Regions from separate parts of the Homo sapiens genome. Here regions 2, 3, 4, 5, 6 and 7 are each linked to region 1. Evidence: promoter capture Hi-C in 16 types of primary human blood cells and fetal thymus (Javierre and others, 2016). All regions are on one chromosome and are shown on one strand. The core of a region is centred on a gene start or on the middle of the fragment in contact, and the rest is flanking DNA. Distances in the headings are between cores, read along the strand shown.

Region 1 (2,769 bases), core at 76-2,575:
ACCTTTGCCTTTAGTTGGTTTCTTGTTTGGAGTATCAGTTGAAACAGTTAATTCAATATTATCTGGATCGCCTCCTTCCTCTTCAATAGCCTACATTAGAAAGAGAAGTTAATATGCTACACAATCTATCTAAACTTATTTTATAAAAACGAAATGAAAAAAAATTTAGCAAACCTCAAGCCTCAAGACATTAGAATTGCCAGTCATTTCATCAACCGACTTCAAAAATGAGCAATTAAACTACACGAAAGAGTGAGAGAAACTTTCAGGGGAAAAAAATCATTAGGTATCAAAATCGCAAGGAGTTTTAAATTCTACCGTGTCAAGATAATTAAATATCACATCATACTGGCCAAAAATCCAAATATGTTCTATTGCAGAAAAGTTGCTAGCTACTAAAGTAAATAACTAAAAAGAGTTTTCCTAGTTTCTGTAATGCAAACTTACTGCTCCTCTGCTACAATTCCAACGCTCACTCAAACCAGAAAGCTAATCAGGAAAGAAAAAGTAATTATTGCGCTGATGCAAAAACTAAAAGCCTAGTGGAAAACAAAAACTCTGTCACCCACCCATCAACTCCCACTACCAATTCCCCCTCAAGATGGGGAAGAAACGGTTGGGCACAATTAAACGGTAACTTCGCAGAAGTCACCAAAGTAACCATTCCCTCTGAGGCCAAGAAATGCACACGCTCACCATGGCTAAAGGCTGGGGAGCCAGCGCCTCCCAGGTCTCCGCGATCGCCCTTGGGAGGCCGCGCCGGCCGGCCGCAACCCTCGCAGCCTGGCGGGGACGTCCCGGGGAGGCGGAGGCACGCTGGGCTGCGGTGGCCGGTCCCTCGCAGGCCCGGCCCGGCCCGGGGCGCGGGGCGGGGGCACCGCGGAAGGGTCCCCGTCCTCCACGCTCGCGGGAGCCGCCCCTGGCCTCCCTACCATGCCGTTCCGCAGGTCCCAGCGGCTGCGGGCAGCCGGAGGCTGCGGCGGAAGCGGGGCGCCGAGGCGCGGCCTAAGTTCCCCTTCCCGGTCCTTTCCGGTCCTCGCCGGGCCTCACCTGCTTGAGTCGGGAGATGAGCACGGTCTTGACTCCGGTGATGTCTAAGTTCCGCCGCTTCAGCTCGGACTTCAGATCGATGACCCGCAGATCGGTGATCTTTTTACCTTCCGCCTGACCCGAGGCGGCCGAGGCTGCCACCGCACCGGTAGCGGCAGCCATCTTAGAAGAGCAGCGCGCTGCCGAGGCAGCGAGTGGGCTGCAGGGCGGCGGCAGCAGCGCCAACTTCCACCCAGGCCTCGGCGGCCGCCGGCGCCGCGCAGCGCTGCGCACAATGAGCCGCTGGCCCCTCCCCCGGTCCGCCACCCTAGCGCAACCTGCAGCAGCAGCCGCCAGCACCCGGATGACGGCCGCGCGTGCGCGTTGGCGCAGGGACCGGCAGCGGCGCGCTCGGTCGAGCGGGCCGCGGCCACTTGGGCGGTGCGCTCCCTTGTGTGGACTGGGAGGTCGGGCACGTCCTACCGCAGCAACGTCCGCCGCGCCGCCGTTCTCTCGTCGCTTCGTTAGCCATTTTCTTGCAACGTCTTGAGTCTTGAGCAACAACGATGTGCGGGCACTGAATGACATAGTGCGCGCGTTACTCAACACAAACCGAGGGGGCGCGTGCGCGCGCTGAACCTCTCAAGGAAATACTTTATCAGTTCTGCTGAATAATCGAAAAATTGTCGCCGGTGTGCACCAACGAACTAGGTTCCCCGAGTTCCATTCAAAAGACCTCAAAGCAGTTCTAGGGCTGTTAGTCCAAAGAATAGGAAGGGCTGGCCTTTGACACATGGCTCATTGGCTGTCTCAGGAGAAAACATCATCGCCCTGCCCATGGCAGCTTAGGTTATTCTAGGGCTGCCCTTCCTCACTTGAAAAACAGGAAAACTTCTTTCTTGTTGGCCTCAGGTTTGCTATCCTCCCCGGTAGACCTGATGGCTCAACACGAAATTGTTCAATGAAAGAGAAAACTAGCTTATAAGTACTTGTTGCCGTTATCATATACTGTGTTCACTATTTTGCCCCCCAAAATTTGGGATTCCAAGAACAGTGAGCATCTTCTTATGGAGGATCGGCCTGTACAAGTGAGTACCTATTTGTAATTTTACCTTGTATTATTCATTATCAAAGTGCAAGCATTGATAAAATAAAACGATTCTATAAATTCCATAAGGTGATTATGATGCACAATTAACTATACTGTATTTCCTGGTTTTACAACTTAAATTCCTGAGATCTGACTCACTTTAGGTTACTTTTTCTGATTGGCTCAAAAAAAAGGAAGACTGGACATTATAAAAGAATACCTGACATTAGGGTAGTTCTTTACAGTTTATAAGGCACTTTGACGTACAGTAACCCCCTTAATCCTTCCCAAGTCTGTCAAGTAAATCTCCGTGAGGCTTAGAGAGATTAAATGACTTGCCCATGTTCACACAGCTGGTATGTGGCCGAGCTGTGCTCAAATCCCAGGCTCCTGATTCCAAATCCAGCTCTGTCTCTGCTACAACATTGGATTCACAATAATAGAAGTTTAGAATGCAAGACTCCTTAGAAATCTTCTGGCCCATCACTTGAGGTCAGGAGTTCAAGACCAAACTGGCCAAGATACAGGGTTTAGTAGAAACCCCGTCTCTACAAAAAATACAAAAATTAGCCGGGTGTGGTGGTGAGCACCTGTAATCCCCGCTACTCGGGAGACTGAGGCAGGAGAATCACCTGAACCCGGAAGGCAGG
Region 2 (3,077 bases), core at 179-2,678, 570 kb after region 1:
TATTTTGCTAAAAAATTATGAACTCAAAATAAAAAATCAGGGTCTACATTTGGCATTATTTTTAATCATCATTGACATGGGAATGATTTGTGAGGATTAATGAAATAATATATGTCAAGTATCTAGTACAGTACCTAGTACATAGTAAATATTTCCTTATATTCATTCATTCACAAATATTTATTAAGCCTCTACCATATGCAAGGCAATAAATAAAACTAGGGTTTTAGGTGATGAAAGAGGCATATATAATGTCTCCTTGCATGCAGTTTACATTCTAGAACAGTTGTTGCAAAGTAAGAGTCTATAAGAAAGTTGGAATAATTGAGCTGGTAGCTTACTTTCTTTAGAGTCAATAATAAGTTTACCACAATTTTATCCATTTACTCACTATTGTTTTTTGCACCCTACTCCTTCTTTGTGGGTGTTCTTTTCTCTTTACTGAAGTACATTCATTAGTAACTTTTTCAGTATTGGCTTGTGGGTGATATTTTTCTAATCTTTGCATGTTAGAAAAAGTCTTTATTTTGTACTTATTCTTGGATGATAGGTTATTTACCCTCAATACTTAGAAGATGTTTCTCCATTATCTTCTGATATCTGTTGTCTCCTATATCTATTGTGGGCTGTCAGTCTTATTGTCAGTTTTTGGTAGCTTTGGGTAGGTTACTTCTCTTTAGTCTGTAGCTTTTAAGATTTTATATTTATCATTGGTTATCTGAATTTCCCCATGCTTTATGTATTTTTACTTATCCCAGTTTGTAGTCATTGAACATCTTAAAATTCATGTCTTTCTTCAATTTTAGAAAATTGTTGGCATTCACACCTCAAATATTGCTTCTTTGCCATTATCTCTATTTCCTTCTGTTGGAACTCCTCCTTGACTTATGTTAACATCCCTCTATTTGACTTCCATGTTTCTTAACTATTTTTTCATGTTTTTAATCTCTGTCCACTACATTCTGAGTGAGTTCCTTGCTACTATCATTGAAGCCACTGATTCTATCTTCAACTATGTCTAGTCTAGAATTAAGACAAGGGCTGGGCGCGGTGGCACACATCTGTAATCCCAGCACTTTGGGAGGCTGAGGCGGGTGGATTGCCTGAGGTCAGGAGTTTGAGACCAGCCCGGCCAACATGGTGAAACCTCATGTTTACTAAAAATACAAAAATTAGCCAGGCATGGTGATGTGTACCTGTAATCCCAGCTACTCAGGAGGCTGAGGCAGGAGAACGGCTTGAACCCAGGAGGCAGAGGTTGCAGTGAGCCGAGATCACGCCACTGCACTCCAGCCTGGGTGACAGAGTTAGACTCTGTCTCGAAAAAAAAAAAAAAATCACAGAAAGGCGTCATTGATCATCTTAGCCACCTATAGCATGGAAGTAAGTGATTTGCTGGATGGTGTCTGCCTGGAAGTGGATGTACACCTCACATCTGCAGTTCACCCCTGTGTCTGCCCACCACTGACAGGGGAGAATAAAGGGTTCTCCTCTTCTACCTTCTGAGTCTTGTATAAATGACTCTCACTGTCAGAATCTAACTCCGAACCCTTCTGGCAATGACGTCTGGGAAGTATAGTTTGGGGCTTCAGTCCCTACGAGACAAAGAGCATTTACAAGGAGCAAAAATGTTGTGTCACTTAAGAATGATCCATTTATGTAAACTCTTTTCCTTGTCACTAATCCTCCAGTTTTTTTCCTAAGTCTCTAACCATTAGCCACTTTCCTTGAATGTCTGGCCATCTCTTATTCCAGGCAAAATGAATCTCCCAATATATTGTTAGAAATTCTGTCTTCCTAACAATCTTTAGGGCTACTCCTAAGTGGACTTAGAAGCATCAGCAGTCTTATTCCAGAAGGTGTCAGCATACTGGGTGTGACCATCTGTAAGCCAGGCCTGACTTTCTCCCTCAGTCCACCTGGTCATCAAGAACTCTTCTAGAAGCCACAGATTTTTTTGTTTGTTTGTTTTGTTTTGTTTTGTATTATCGTTTTATCTTTTTGTAGACACAGGGTCTTGCTATGTTGCCCAGGCTGGCCTTGAACTCCTGGGCTCAAGCAATTCTCCTGCCTCAACCTCAGCCTCCCAAGCAGCAGGAGGGAGAAGATGAAGAAGTCATAGGCATGGATTGAAGGAGAGTTGGTGCAGTAGCAGGAATAGATGCCATGGTGGGAGTCTGTGCTCTTGTAACTTACTTGTGCCTTTTGAACCTGCTTGAACCCTTCCCCTTGAAGATGGAGTGCTGTTCTAGGCCCACCTTCTAGTGTGGTATTCATGATGGATTGCTCCGATTGCAGAGTCACCTAATGGCATTCTGTCTCTACTGAGCCCAGTAGCAAGCCAGCAGCTTCTTCTCAACAGAGGAATATTGTCTCAGAACAGAGCATTAGTTAGCTCTAAACTCTTATGGGTCCATTCTGTGACTCTCCTATTAGGACTCGACAGAGGCCCCACACAGCTCATCTGCCACACATACTTTGAGTACCATTGGATCTGCCAAGTTGCAAGGCCCACAGGGCAGCAGCTTTTACTACAGCTTGAACTGGCTGCAAAGCCTTCCCCTGCTCTACACCCTACTCATACTATACAGCCTTACGAGTGATTCAGTCAAAGTTTAGAAGTAATATTTTCTAACATGGTAGAAGTTTCCTCCCAAATCCAAGGAGGCCCCCAACTTCGAAAGGCAGGGGTGGTACTGAAGAGTGACAGACCACATCCAGCACACTAGCTATGCTCTTTGTATTGGCCTCTCGCTGCACATACAGTGTTGTACTCATGATCGTTGGAAAGACTTTATTTCTTTGGTGGTTACATCTCTAGCCTTATTAAGCAACATCCCTGTGGTTTACCTTAAAAACCATAATGAGGCCAGCTCTTGGAATTCATTTGAACCTCTGTTCAAAAGAATGATGGATAGTGCACTTTCTTTGAGTGGGTTTTGCATTTCAGAGTGTATAAGGAAGCTTTTGCGCATTGTTTTTAAACTTTAATAAGAATCAGCTTTGTTCTTTGTCTGGACAGATGTGATGCCAGCATAGCTAGACTTTCTGCAGAGCACAAAACGACCTATGAGGGG
Region 3 (2,891 bases), core at 342-2,841, 700 kb before region 1:
CATTTCATCACCAGAAATACCTTTATTATTTTGTCTCCATGCCCCTCAGTGAAGGAAGCAATGCCATAAGACAATAATGAGGTTGAGTAACTTGTCCAGTGCCTTCCAGCCAGCAGGGCCAGGACCAGGATTCAAAACCAGAGTCCAGCTCAGGAGCTCAAGCTCTGGGACTCACTGTGTCTTAGTCTGGATTTCCTACAAACCAAACCCAAAGACTAAATTTTTCTTGCTAACTCTTCACTGGGGAACGCAATCCCCAAAAAGCAAGAATGATGGAAAGGAGGGAACAAGGCAGGGAAGGAGGGGGAACAAATATAAGAGAGGGTGCTCCCAAGCTGGCCATGGATTTGTAATGAGTAAAGATGTTTGCTTTTCAGTCTCTTAACGATCCAACTGAGAGCAAATAGGAAAATTTATCTGCTGGTTCCCATTTCCAATGGTCGGACTTGCCCCATAAGATTTTATCCTTCCTCCCCTATGCTTCTTGGCTGCTCCATCTGGCTCTTCCAGAAGCCATCAAGGAAGCCAGATCCCACTGCAGCAGCAGCAGCAATGGCAGCCAGCAAGTGTGCATGGGCCAGTGGCACACCCACAAGCTTGCACAGCTGCCTGCAGTGTCTCAGACCCTGCTCAGAAAGCCATCAGGCAAGTGCAGGTGCTGGGTGCACCCACAGTCTCATGCCTTAGTGGGAACAGGGAAGTCCTAGGGAAGGAAGTGAATGACAGTTGCATGAGGTATGACACAGGTCCTGTTGAATCATGCCTTCATGTGAGTGGCACGAAGGATTGGAGCAGCTGCCATGGTGGGCCTGGCCAGCCAAGAAAGCAGTGCTCCACACTGGTGATGACAGAGTCAGAACTCAACAAAGGTCAAAAGTCCCCTCTGCAGCCTTTAAGAGTGTGGTTGGGGCCAAGTGGTTTTCCTGGGGGGCCATCAGTGAATGGCAGCCAGTCCAATCAGGGGGACACATGGTTGGGTACGGCACTCTGCTATGCTGATTCTGCAGAACTGAATGCTGACAATGACTATCTCAATACAGCATTTGCCACTATGTGCCAGGCACTACTCTAAATGCTGCATGTATATTATTTGTTTTAATCCTCATAGCAATGTCATGAGGTTCCTCGGGATTTCCCAGACAAAAAAACTAGCCCAGAGAGGGTTAGTAAGTTAATCAGTGCCATAGCTGCTATATGGTGGAGTCAGATTTTGAATCTGGGCCATCCAACTCTGGTGTCAGTACATTTCACTATCAAAAGCCTACTGACCTGTTGTTGAATGGTCAACAAACAAATTAAGAAAGACCTCCCAAGAGGTGAAAATTTGGAACATCGGGAATAAAAAGATGATTCTAAAAGCTTCAAAGGGAACAAATCAATAGAATTAGAATCAGAATAGTGTTTGTGGTCTGAACTACAACATAAAAGCCAGGCAACAATGAAGCAATGCCTTCAAAATGTTAAAGAAGATAATTTTTCAGCCTAGAATTTTACAACAAGGCAAATTGAATCAAGTATGAAAACAGAATGGACATTTGCAGACTTGTTTAGACTCAGATAATTGACGTTCCTTTCTTAAAAGTGCCTGGAGGATAGGCATCTTGGTTACAAGGAAATAATCAAGGAAAAAGAAAACATGGCATCCCAGAAACCTAAATCCAACCTAGAAAAGCTATTGAGAGAAGATCCCAAGTTAATCCCAAGTGTGGCAGAACTAGAGAGCCACTAATCCTCACTGGTGCAGAAGAGATAGTGCTTCACGAAGGAGTGTCCAGGAAAAAGTAGACCCACAATAGAAAGGGTGATGCAATAGGTGATATGATGAAGCTTCTGGAAAGAAGATGCAATCAGGCAATTATTAACTCAAGGAATGACCAAAGCCTATTCAAGAAAAAATATGGAATCCCAGTATTCTAATGGGTTCTGGAGTGAACAATACAATACTTACATTGTCATAATGGTTTAAAGACCTATGATTGATATAACTTAAAGTGTGGTAAAATTTGGGTGAGAGGCTGAAGAGAGGTGGAGATATTAAATCTTCATCTCTGATAACATTTGTAAGTTTAAATACTGCAATATACCCACGTATTTAAATGCACACGTAACTCAGAGAAACCAGCTAAAAATTCAAAGCATGTCCCTTAGCAAAGAACCAGCAGCCGGTGTGGGTTTGTTCAGGGAACTACTGCTTTGTATTATAAGCTTTTTAACACTGTTTGATTTCTTAATTACGTAAATAATTACCTCAATTTTTAAAAAATATAAAACTCCTCTGTTCTAAAAAGAGCAAGCCTGCAAGAGAAGTTAATGCAATTGAAAGCACAGCCTCATGAACCCCCTAAGTTTCCCTTGTAGTTCACCTCCTTGGCACAGACCAACCCTTCATGAACTCCCCTCCCTTGACTCACTCATGTCTTTGGTTTGTGCTCTGTCTTTGGCTTTGAGCAGCTGGTATCCTTTCATTTCCCATTCTGACATCCGCCTTCCATACAAGGTCCCAATTCACCTTTTGTCTTGAACCTTGATAGCTCAACTTTTTTCTTTCACCCTGCCTTTTTCCCCAACTTCTAAGACAAGTGACTCAGAAATGTGGCTTTAAGCAAACAATTATACGAAATATAATCTGTTGTAACTACTAATTTATCTCTGTGACTTTGGCCAAATCACCTCACTTCTCATAGTTTCCTTGTCTATGAAGTAAGAGATTAAATCTCGATGATCCTAAATCTTCCATCTCCACTGTTCTGTGATTTATATTTGGATCTTAAGGCTGAGTTGGCAAAGGTCTATAGGAATAATCATAAAGGAAGTGATGCCATCTATTCTATGATTAAGGAAAATAATTTACTGAAGATTCATATTGGGTTCTGTTCACTTTAAAAAGAAAT
Region 4 (2,962 bases), core at 427-2,926, 720 kb before region 1:
AGGATTACAGGCGTGCGCCACCACGCCTGGCTAATTTTTGTATTTTTAGTAGAGACGGGGTTTCACCATGTCGGTCAGGCTGGTCTCGAACTCCTAACCTCATGATCTGCCTGCCTTGGCCTCCCAAAGTGCTGGGATTACAGGTGTGAGCCACCACAGCCGGCCCAGGCTAGCTGAACTTCTTACGTGGCACTAGCTTCTAAGGGCACAAAAATCAAACTTATCAGGCCTTCTTGAGGCTGAAGATCAGAACTAGCAAAGAGTCACCTCTGTCACATTCTATGTAGGTCAAAGAACCTACCTTCAGGATGGGAGGGGACTACACAAGGACAGGAATACCGGGAGGTATCATTCATTGGAAGCCGTTTCTGTAATCCATCGAAGGGAGACAACCAGGTTTATAATGACTATTGCTCAAAATCATGTATAATGTGAAAGACTTAAAGAAGTTTGGAGTTTTTAGCTTGGATATGATGTTCTATAGGTTCAAAAGAGCTATTTTGAAATTCTTGGAGGACTGTGCACAGCAGAAGATGTAGATATATCCTGTATAGCTCCAAGGAACAAAATTAGGACTAGAGGTGGGTTTCAAGTCAAATGCTAAGCACTCAATGGTCAGGGGTATGGAGAGATGTTTGTTTGTGTAGGAAGTCATAATAGATAGCCTCTAAGGCCCATTTCCACTCTTGAAATTTAAGCTTCTAATTACATGCCTCCTCCTGTTAATTATTTCTGGGTGTATTAGTCCTATCTCCTTAGCCAGGCTTTAAATTGGAGAAACTGAATGAATAAATAAAACACAGTTCTAGAATAGCTTCCAGTCTTAGCTCTGCTAGCACTGAGCTGCTGCCTGACTTCGGGTAAGTCATTTAATGTCCCTGGGCCTCAATTTCTTCATCTGAAAAAGAAGGGGATTCTATTCTAACCTCCCACCCAGTGCAACATGAAGATAATAAATGGCAACTTTCATAGTTTTGCTTTAAAAGTCAAATGGAAATGAAAATAGATAAAATGGTTAAGATAATGCCTGGCCTATTGTTAGTGCTTTATAAATATGAGCTCTCGTTGTCTCTCTATTATGACGTTTCTGATTCTACAACTTCCATGTTTACAATAGAATCCTGAGATACTTCAGACCTTCACTTCTTTTGCTCTGCACAGTGATCAGAAAGTGACTCATAATCATCGCTAGTCTAGGTCTCATCAGGTGACCAGGAGTCCACCATGACCTTGTACAGCGCAAGCCCTTGATAAATGATTCAATTAAATTCAAAAGGGCTTGGGCAGCAAAAAGTGTCCTCTTGCTCCATGCCCAGCAGAGGGAGCAGAAGAAAAGGAACAAATCCTTTCTCAGCTATGTACTAAACACAAAGGAAGACAGAAGGCTGAGGGCTTCTAGAGGTCTCCTTATCCACCCACCCCTCTCCCCTCATTTTGTACATTGTGAAACTGAGACCAAGAGAGGAAAGGGGATTTCTCAACGTTACCAACCAATAAGCGGTAAGACCCTCAGAAAGACAAGCCATGTTTTCAGGCCCAGGTCTGGGGCCTTTGACCCATGGTTGTTCAATGCTATCATGTTGATTTCTTTCTTTTCAAGGAAATCAGCCGTGGGTAACCGCAACCTCACCATTCTCTTTTGCCCCAGTTCTCTGAGGGCTTTGGATTTGAATTCGGCTCTGCTGCTAACTTGGGCAAGTTCCATAGCCTCTCCAAGATTCAGAGACATATTTTTTAAGTAATTATAATAATTTTATTTATCGTAAAATTTGGAAGGAATAAATAAAATGATGTAATGTAAAACTCCTTGTAAGGCATCCTGAGTGCATGAGTTGCCATAATAGATGTAAATACCTATCCTTGTCAAAAAAGAAATCGTTTCACCAAAATGAATTGAAACTCTATGACACAGGTCTCAAACTCAGAGGCTGCTGGGAGCCAGCCATTTAAATAAAGCCGTCTGGATATACAACAGGGACTTCTAAGGGTGGCAGCAAACTGCAGAGCTCACAGCCATGGGAGATAAGCAACGTTTAACAGGAGAAAATTCAAGCCCAGGGTTGCCAGATCTTCCCAGAGAAGTTGGAAATCAGGGATTTCATGTGCAAATTTCTTATTTTTAAAAATATTATACAGATGAAATAAAACCCAGGCCAGCAGCTTGTTATGCCTGCTTTTAAAAAGCTAATTTTAGAGTTCCATATGCAGAGACACACACCATACTACAAATGAGAAACTCAGCCCCATAAATTCAGGAGAAGAGATGATGTCTGTCATTTGGAGGGAATGTGCCAATAATATCAACCCACAGACTTGTTTTTCTAAAAGGCCCTTACTCAGCAAATACATTGAACCTCTGGGGCTTATGTTGCAATCTCTGGAATATCCTCCAACTTTCCTTGATGACTTTTGATTTCCTGCCCGTTCCGTGCCTAGTACCATTTAAGTTGCTGTAGTCTTCCAGCTTGACTGTAAATTATACATTCCACATTGATATGCTTTTTCTCTAAAAGGTAGAAAATAACATTTTACAATTTTATATATAACATTCATTTTTATTTAACAGCTACCTTCATTAGATATTCACTGAAAAGAGGTCCATTATAAGCAACAGCTAGATGGGGGACAGGGCTGACTGTCTAGAATTTTTTATACCAAGCTTTCCAACACACATTAAGAATAAAAATCCTTTTGTTCCAGTCAAAGAAGGAAAATAAACTGTAGGTACATCAGAAAAGGAAAAAGAAAATGCAATGTTAAATGAAAACACAAAAAGGGGGTGGGGGAAGGACGGATTCGGAGAAAAAAAGCAGAAAAGTTAAATCCAACCTTGAGGATTTCTCGGTTATTTTTACTTCTCTACCTAGGAAGGCTTAAGCCCCTTAATTTATGCTTGATTTCCATTGAGCATCTCCACCACTAGTTCCCTTTCTTTGAGGGGAAAAGGACCCAATAGGAAACA
Region 5 (2,815 bases), core at 113-2,612, 610 kb after region 1:
CTTGGTCTCCAGCAATCCTTCCACCTCAGCCTCCCAAAATGCCGGAATGACAGACATCAGGCTCTGTGCCTGGCTAGTAACAAGTTTTGATGAAGATGTGAAGAAATTTGGAAACCTCATATATTGCCAGTGAAAATGCAAACTGGTGCAGCCCCTTTGGTTTCATTTACTTATTTATTTTTGAGATAAGTTTTCACTCTGTTGCTCAGGCTAGAGTGCAGTGATACAATTATAGCTCACTGTAGCCTCAACCTCCTGGCTCAAGTGATCCTACCCACTCGGCCTCCTGAGTATTTAAGAGTATCAGTGCAGGCCACCACACCCAGCTATATATTTTTTATATATATGTATGTGTATATATACACATATATATGTGTGTGTGTATATATATGTGTGTGTGTATGTATATGTACGTATATATGTGTGTATATATGTACATATATATATACGTGTATATGTGTGTATATACATACGTATATGTGTATATATACGTATATACGTGTATATATATGTGTATATATACGTGTATATATACGTGTGTATATATACGTGTATATATACGTGTGTATATATACGTGTATATATACGTGTGTATATATACGTGTATATATACGTGTGTATATATACGTGTATATATACGTGTGTATATATACGTGTATATATACGTGTGTATATATACGTGTATATATACGTGTGTATATATACGTGTATATATACGTGTGTATATATACGTGTATATATACGTGTGTATATATACGTGTATATATACGTGTGTATATATACGTGTATATATACGTGTGTATATATACGTGTATATATACGTGTGTATATATACGTGTATATATACGTGTGTATATATACGTGTATATATACGTGTGTATATATACGTGTATATATACGTGTGTATATATACGTGTATATATGTGTGTATATATACGTGTATATATATGTGTGTATATATACGTGTATATATATACGTGTGTATATATACGTGTATATATATACGTGTGTATATGTGTATATATATACGTGTATATATATACGCGTATATATATACGTGTATATATATATATATATATTTTTTTTTTCTTGGTAGAGGCAGGGTCTTATTATGTTGCTCAGGCTGACCTTGAACTCCTCAAGTGATCCTTCTGCCTTGGCCTCCCAAAGTGCTAGGATTACAGATGTGAGTCACCATGCCACACCCTGGAAAAGAGTGTGGTAAACAGGCAGTTCTTCAAAATGTTGAGTATAGAGTTCCCATATGACCCAGCAGTTTTACTGCTAAGTGTGTACACCAAAGAACTGAAAACCTAGGTCCACACAAAGACCTGTACAAGAATATTCATAACATGACAAAAAGGAATTTGAGGAAATCTAAAAAAAAAAAAAGAATATTCATAGAAGCATTTTCATAGTAGACAAAAGGTGGGAACAACACAAATATTCATCAACTGATGAATGGATAAATAAAATGTGGCACATAATACAATGTAATATTATTCAGCCGTAAAAAGGAATGGAATTGTGATCCATGCTACATCATGGATGACCCTTGGAAAGATTCTTTTTTTTTAAAATTAAATGTTTTGAGACAGTATCTCACTCTGTTGCCCAGGCTGGAGTGCAGCGGCCTGATCACGGCTCACTGCAGCCTGGATCTCCCAAGGTTCAGGTGATCCTCGTGCCTCAGCCCCCAAAACAGCTGGGAATGCAGGTGCTCACCACCATGCCTGACTGATTTTTGTATTTTTAGTAGAGATGGGGTTTCGCCATGTTGCCCAGGCTGTTCTCAAACTCCTGGGCTCAAACGATCTACCCACCTCGGTCTCACAAAGTACTGTGATTATAGGTGTGAGACACCACGACCAGCCTGGAAATATATCTGAAGTGAAGGAAGCCAGTCACAAAAGACCACATAGGGTAAAATTTCATGCATTATAAAATGTTCAGAACAGGCCAATCTATAAACACAGAAAGTGGCTTGGTGGTTTCCAGAAACTGGGGTGAAGGTGGAATGATAAGTGACTGCTAATGCGGACAAGGTTTCTTTTTGGAGTGATAAAAATATTAAAACACTCTCTACCAATAACCTGGAGGAAAATAAACACTCAACATCCATTTAAAAATGTAATAAAGATAAAGACGTGGTTGTGCCTTTGGGTTCAAAATATAACTGGGTTGAAGTGGATGTCTCCTGCTGCCTGGCCAGCCTGTGCCTTCTTTTACTAGGGTGACAGCCTCTGGCTTCTCTTGAAGAACAAGCCCCGGTTCTGTGTGGTTCTGGTGGAAATGTTATTGAAAGGACTCCTTACCTCCCACTAAGGGGCAAATACTTTGGCTTGGAAATTTGAACTGAATTAAATGGCCTAAGGAAACTGTTGAGATGGAATCATTCTCAGGATAGCACTTGAAATCTTTCCCTCCTTCCTTCCTTCTTTCCTTCCTTCCTTCCCTTCCTCCCTCCCTCCCTCCCTCCTTCCCTTCCCTCCCTCCCTTCCTCCTTCCTTCCTTCCCTCCCTTTCTTTTTTTTGAAACAGAGTTTCACTTTTGTCATCCAGGCTGGAGTGCAATAGCATGATCTCGGCACACTGCAACCTCCACCTCCTGGGCTCAAGTGATTCTCCTGCCTCAGCCTCCCAAGTAGCGGGGATTACAGGTGCCCGCCACCATGCCCAGCTAAGTTTTGTATTTTTAGTAGAGATGGGGTTTTGCCGTGTTGGCCAGGCTGGTCTCGAACTCCAGACCTCCCAGTCCTGCTGCCTGGACTCTCCTGGAGATTGTTAGAAGCCCTAGCCCAGACCTCCTGCATCAA
Region 6 (3,017 bases), core at 473-2,972, 630 kb after region 1:
ACAACTTGAAGCCTAGCAAAATGTTATTTTTCCCAGGCAGAATTTTAATTTGCCTCAGACATCTGCCTGGGGCTTTACCTTTTCTAATTCCAGAGAGTTTCATTGTCTGGGTCACTTAAATGACTCAAAGACAGCCTGCAACGTGTTAACTCTTACAGTTAAGATGCAGCTCTGAAGGGCCACAACCAAAATCACATAAGAAACATTGATCAGAGTCTCTACTTTTGTCATATTCTGTTCCCCGGTCCTGGAAGCTTATCTCTGGTGTCTCTTCCAGATTCTGCAGAAGCCACCTGGGTGGAAGCTGTCCTAAATGATAGGCTCACCTTGTAGGCTATTCATCCATTCCTGAATCCTGGTCCAGTAATTCTTCACTATCTCTTTAGCTATTAGATGTTTTAAGCAGATTGAAAAAAAAATTGTGTTGACCTTTTCTAGTTGTTCTGAACAGGAGGGTTAGTTCAAATGGTCGAATTTGCCATTACTGAAAATGAGAGTGTTTGTAGGCTTTTTGTATTATTAAAATTTTGAACTGTGTGAATTATTTTTTAAATTAAATTTAAAAATTCTTTTAAAAAGAAAACTAATTTTCTCAGTGAATTCAGTTGTATTTCTCTGAATTATGAGCCTTCAGCAAAAGTTCTTGATTGCATTAAATGGCTGTTTCAAGTCCAGAAATTCTAAAGAGAATTAGTCATGTATTGCTTTATGATGGAGATACATTCCGAGAAATGTATTTTTAGGTGATTTAATCATTGTGCAAACATCACAGCATGCACTTACCCAAACTTAGATGGCATAACCTACTACACACCTAGACTTTATGGTATGGCCTATTGCTCCTAGGCCTGTTGCTTCTGGTGGTGCATACCTGTAGTTCCAGCTACTTGGGAGGCTGAGGCAGGAGGATTGCTTGAGCCTAGGAGTTCAAGGCTGCAGTGAGCTAGGATTGAGCCACTGTACTCCAGCCTAGGAGACAATGAGACCCTGTCTCAACTGAAAAAAAAATGAAAATGGTACACCTGTATTACAGGGTACTTACCATAAATAGAGCTTATAGGACTGGAAGTTCTTTTTTTTTTTTTTTTTTCAACAATAACATTTTTCTTTCTTTATTTTATTTTATTTATTTATTTATTTTTGAGACGGAGTCTTGCTCTGTCACCCAGGCTAGAGTGCAGTGGTGCGATCTCAGCCCACCTGGGTTCAAGCGATTCTCGTGCCTAAGTTTCCCGAGTAGCTGCGATTACAGATGCCCACCACCATGCCCGGCTAATTTTTGTATTTTTAGTAGAGATGGGGTTTCACCATCTTGGCCAGGCTGGTGTTGCACTCCTGACCTCCTGATCCACCCGCCTTAGCCTCCCAAAGTGCTGGGATTACAGGTGTGAGCCTATCCGCACCTGGCCAGAACTGGAAGTTCTTTGGGTGAGTTAGTGTGTGAGTGAGTGGTGAGTGAATGTGAAGGTCTAGGACATTGCTGTACACTACTGTAGGCTTTGTAAACACTGTACACTTAGGCAACACTAAATTTATAAAATTTGTCTCATTAATTAACCTTAGCATACTATAACTTTTAAATAAAAAACTTTTTAGGCTGGGCGCAGTGGCTCACGCCTGTAATCCCAGCGCTTTGGGAGGCTGAGGTGGGTAGATCACGAGGTCAGGAGATCAAGACCATCCTGGCTAACACGGTGAAACCCCATCTGTGCTAAAAATACAAAAAATTAGCTGGGCATGGTGGCATGCGCCTGTGGTCGCGGCTACTCAGGTGGCTGAGGCAAGAGAATCGCTTGAACCCGGGAGGCTGAGGTTACAGTGAGCCGAGATTGCGCCACTGCACTCTGGCCTGGGCGACAGAGCAAGACTCGATCTAAGAAAAAAATTAGATAGTCTAATCTGCAGTAAATTCTTATCTACAGTAAAAATTAGCCATTCTTATGTACAGTAAAATATTCTTATCTGTCAATGACCTTTGCCTTTTATTTCCCCAACCCAAGTTGTTAGAGCTTGATTTTTTTCTCTTTTTCTTCCTTCTTCCTGCCTTCAATTAACTGAAAGTCAATATAGGTGATAATTAATAGCTGTACTTTCCCGGTGACAAATGGAACTATAGTGTGTGCACACATAAACAAAAGTGCAATCTGAGAAATAAGATGGCAAAATATCAATCTGGACTAATGGTTACATACTAAGAAAGGAGTGGGGCAGGAGCACCAGTCGAGAACGTGCATTTTACTCAGTGCCCGGTGTCATCCCTTACAGCAGGCTTTTAATTTTCACTCTGAGAAAGGTTTCAGGAGATGATGCACTTACATTATGATTCCAGATCCTTCCTCTTGGGGGTGTGTTATTCAGAGAGGTACTGTGGTGCATGCAGTAGAACACCTCCAATTATTACTTAGGGGGAAGCCCATTCTTTATCGGACAGTTGCAAGTACTTCAAAGCTCTTCTGTAGAGTTCATGTCTGTTACTTCGACTCAGAAAATGGGCCCTGAAGGCCCTTTGGGTAGGGAGCATAATGCCACCACTGAAATCCTGTAACTTGAGGAAAACCTGAGGAAGAAATCCTATGATTTAAAGAAGGTTCAGTGATTAGCTGAGGGCTGATGGGAGAGGGGATGCCACGAGGCCTGCTGGTCTTCAAGGAAAAGGCCTTTGCTGGAGTGGCCTGGCTCCCTCACCTAATCTGACCTCCTATCTCTTGCACGGAGAAAACCTTGCTGTTATTATTGTCCTCATCCTCCTGTGTGGGCTCGCTCCTCCTCCCCCCATTTTTTAAAAGCACCCCACCCTACAACCTCATAGTCCCTGCACGCTCGAGTCAGGAGGATGGCATCGTCTCTGTGCTCTCCACGTCTGCTTTCAGTGGTTTGATCGCTTCCTCTCAAGCCACCACCAGGCAGCCCTGTTGCCTGCTGTGTATACTTACTGCCACCGCCTCCAGGTCTCTTCCAGATGCCCTGGGCATATTGGTCCCTGGATCTCAGGCTTGCCCAGCACTCAGTCCCTGGCA
Region 7 (2,849 bases), core at 218-2,717, 670 kb before region 1:
CTCGTTCAGCTCCTTCTCCTGCCCCAGCTGGTCCCCCTCACTTTTCCAGATCACACACACCCAGATCTGTTTTGTTGAGCTCTGCTTCTAGGGAAACTGACTTAAGACACACACACAGATACACGTATACACACACACCTGAAATAAAATTTTGAGTAAACAGTACTTACACTTACTTCATGTCATGCACTCTTATTTTCTGTACTATTCTTTTTTGTTTTGTTTTGTTTTGTTTGAGACAGAGTCTCGCTCTGTCCCCTATTTTTTAATTGCTTGTTTGTAACCCTCTAATTTTATTTCATAATCCATGAATGGGTCACAGCTCTGCAATTTGAAAAATACTACACTTTATAAGCAATCTAGGGATAAAACAAACAAACAAACAAAAACCTACACTTCCCTAACCTTTCCAAGTTAACCTTCTGGAGACTGGTGTACTGCAATCCAAAAGGTTCAGGACAGGGTGGAGTGAAGGGAATCTGTCATGGTATGCACGGCATTGAGAGTTTTGAGACTCAGGAGATATATTCTCCTAGGGCCAAGTATCTAAAGTAGCCCCAAGCATCTACTGCCTTCTGACTGCTGAGAAGGGCACCAGCCTCCCTCCGCTCTATCCTTTCCCCTGCAAATGCATTCACTTCTGTTCCAAGAGATAAAGCAGTTTTTGACCTTACATAAATACACAGAGATGTACATAAGAAAAGTTTATTTCAGCATCATCTATGATGCCAAAACCAAAACATCCCAAATGGCCCTCAGTAAATGCACCTCAGTACAACCAGACAAAGGAACACCATGTGTCCATTAAAAATAATGAAATAAGTTATGTAAGTACTGAAAACTTTCCATGATACACTAACTGCAGAAATCAATTGGCCCTACAGTTCTCCAATGTAATTTCATTTTTATTTTTGTAAAGTTAGTATGTGTATGGTAAACATATGGAAAAATAGGCTCAAAATTATTTGTGGTAATCATCTGCGGGGGCATGATTACGGAACACTTTCTTTCATTTTCTAAGTCATACATTTCCATAGCGTTTGAACTTTTTACTGCAAGCATGAATTATTTCTAAAATGAGAAAAAGCAATACCTTTTCATTTAAAAAAGGCAAAATACAAAAAGAAGGTATTTTATAAGGTGGCATCGTAAGTTCCTTTGAAGGTACAATAGCAGTCCTTCAGCGAATAAAGTATGCATTCAAAAGTGAGACAGGAAACATTTCTGTAAGTTCATGCCCTCAGATAACATCTTTGCTCCAACATATAGACATATCAGATAAAGAACAAATGGAGAAGACTTATACACTGTAGTGAGACTCAGAAACCAGATAAACATCCCTGTGTACTACAAATGACAAGAAAGCCCACCAGGAGCTGGACTGAGGCCAGGGCTTTGGTGCCTGGTTCTGAAAGCTCAGATGGTGGCTCCCACAAGGCTGTAAGGGCTAAAAGGGGTAGGGATGGAGGGAGTGGAAAGTCAGGGTTTGGGGCTCCCAAACCTTCTGGAAAGCTAGAAAATGCTGCCTGGAACATTGTTTTGTTTTAATCAAGGGTTTGTTACCCTGGCTGCATCTTTAACTTGATAAGTTTTTAGAAAAATACCACTGCCCAGAAATTCTGACTTAATTTCTTTAATTCTTTCTCCCTCTCTCTCTCCTTTCCCTCCCCGTTTCCCAGTCCCTTCCCTCCTTCTCCCTCTTCTCCCTTTACTCCTCTCTCTTCCCCTCCTAATCTCTCTCCCTCTTCTCCCTTTACTCCTCTCTCTTCCCCTCCTACTCTCTCCCCCTCTCCCTCTTTCCTGTTTAAAGGACTCCTTTGGAGATTGCAACATACATCCAGGATTGATGTTAATTAACACCTTGGGCTTAGGGGTCAACGGATCCAGACAAAGGCTCTGCCCAGGTACTCAGCCAAGCAAGCAGCCAGCTTGAAGATGAGATTTGGGATTTGCCCCCATTGTGGGTACTTCTGAACATCAGCAAGGCCTGCTTAGGGACTGGAGGCCCTGGGGAAGGGAGTGGGGTTTAGGAGGGAGCCAAATACTGCTATTCAGAGTGAGGTAATGGGACAGAGAGACAGACAGGGAAAAAACATGTTCCTCCACAGGCAAACGGATGAATACATGATGTACTCATATAACAGAATGTTATAGAGTGATGAAGATTTGTAACCCAGCATTAACATGGCACCAAAGTGGATATCCCTCAAAAACATAATGCTGAGTTATAGAAACATTTTACAGCATGGTTTGTATGTTATGATGCCATTTATTTACATTTTAAACACTAGGAACCAAAAACCATATATTGTTTTGCAGCTAAAACTATTAAAATATTCATGAGATTCTAACACACTGACTTCGGGGCAGGGGTTCCCTTTGGCAAGGGAGGAAGAGGAGTGGGGTTGAAGAGAGGTGCACAGGGAAGAATAAATGGGAACAAACCGTGGGTACCCGCACTGCACAACTTGGGTGGATCTGAAGGCATCGTGCTGTGTGTAAGAAACTGGTAGTAAAAGGTCACATAATTTATTACTCCATTTATGACATTTATGAAAAGACAAAATTATAGTGATGAAGAATAGATTAGTGGTTGTCAGGAGGAAGATGGGACTACAAAGGGATAGTCCACCAGGGTGGTGGGGTTCTTCTGTATCCCAGCTGTGGTGATGGTAACGCAAATCTACACGTGCATTAAAATTCACAGGACTGGCCATGCTCAAAGGCTCACGCCTGTAATCCCAGCACTTTGGGAGGCCGAGGCAGGCGGATCACGAGGTCAGGAGATCGAGACCATCCTGGCTAACATGATGAAACCCCGTCTCTGCTAAAAATACAAAAAATTAGCC

What was found. Contacts are between HindIII fragments. The CHiCAGO score rates a contact against its expected background, and 5 or more counts as called.
Region 2: a fragment that was not itself captured here is called in contact with the fragment with the promoter of SLTM in region 1 in 17 of 17 cell types (total CD4 T cells, naive CD8 T cells, activated CD4 T cells and 14 more); the score reaches 24.6 in total CD4 T cells.
Region 3: a fragment that was not itself captured here is called in contact with the fragment with the promoter of SLTM in region 1 in 6 of 17 cell types (total CD4 T cells, endothelial precursors, total CD8 T cells and 3 more); the score reaches 7.8 in total CD4 T cells.
Region 4: a fragment that was not itself captured here is called in contact with the fragment with the promoter of SLTM in region 1 in 2 of 17 cell types (fetal thymus and erythroblasts); the score reaches 7.8 in fetal thymus.
Region 5: a fragment that was not itself captured here is called in contact with the fragment with the promoter of SLTM in region 1 in 8 of 17 cell types (naive CD8 T cells, total CD8 T cells, total CD4 T cells and 5 more); the score reaches 10.0 in naive CD8 T cells.
Region 6: a fragment that was not itself captured here is called in contact with the fragment with the promoter of SLTM in region 1 in 1 of 17 cell types (neutrophils); the score reaches 5.3 in neutrophils.
Region 7: a fragment that was not itself captured here is called in contact with the fragment with the promoter of SLTM in region 1 in 1 of 17 cell types (naive CD4 T cells); the score reaches 6.0 in naive CD4 T cells.

Annotation. Positions count from the first base shown.
Region 1 is chr15:58,932,354-58,935,122 of GRCh38, forward strand. It overlaps SLTM (SAFB like transcription modulator), which reads right to left and starts at 1,326. Exons shown (of 21, transcript NM_024755.4): 1 at 1,051-1,326; 2 at 3-90. The coding sequence starts at 1,212. RefSeq lists silencers at 683-942, 1,313-1,492 and enhancers at 993-1,232, 1,523-1,662, 1,683-1,772. The HindIII fragment of the contact is 26,250 bases long and covers 1-2,769 here.
Region 2 is chr15:59,504,191-59,507,267 of GRCh38, forward strand. FAM81A (family with sequence similarity 81 member A) reads left to right here. Exons shown (of 9, transcript NM_152450.3): 5 at 3,023-3,077. Among named protein-coding and RNA genes, the nearest start is that of FAM81A, 68 kb to the left of the region's middle. The HindIII fragment of the contact is 3,067 bases long and covers 1-2,962 here.
Region 3 is chr15:58,231,758-58,234,648 of GRCh38, forward strand. The region is part of intron 1 of LOC124903499 (a long non-coding RNA gene); the gene reads left to right. Among named protein-coding and RNA genes, the nearest start is that of AQP9, 95 kb to the left of the region's middle. The HindIII fragment of the contact is 468 bases long and covers 1,358-1,825 here.
Region 4 is chr15:58,211,805-58,214,766 of GRCh38, forward strand. No RefSeq gene overlaps it. Among named protein-coding and RNA genes, the nearest start is that of AQP9, 75 kb to the left of the region's middle. The HindIII fragment of the contact is 1,961 bases long and covers 697-2,657 here.
Region 5 is chr15:59,538,770-59,541,584 of GRCh38, forward strand. No RefSeq gene overlaps it. Among named protein-coding and RNA genes, the nearest start is that of GCNT3, 72 kb to the right of the region's middle. The HindIII fragment of the contact is 5,264 bases long and covers 1-2,815 here.
Region 6 is chr15:59,566,786-59,569,802 of GRCh38, forward strand. No RefSeq gene overlaps it. Among named protein-coding and RNA genes, the nearest start is that of GCNT3, 43 kb to the right of the region's middle. The HindIII fragment of the contact is 2,941 bases long and covers 253-3,017 here.
Region 7 is chr15:58,262,978-58,265,826 of GRCh38, forward strand. No RefSeq gene overlaps it. Among named protein-coding and RNA genes, the nearest start is that of AQP9, 130 kb to the left of the region's middle. The HindIII fragment of the contact is 4,002 bases long and covers 1-2,849 here.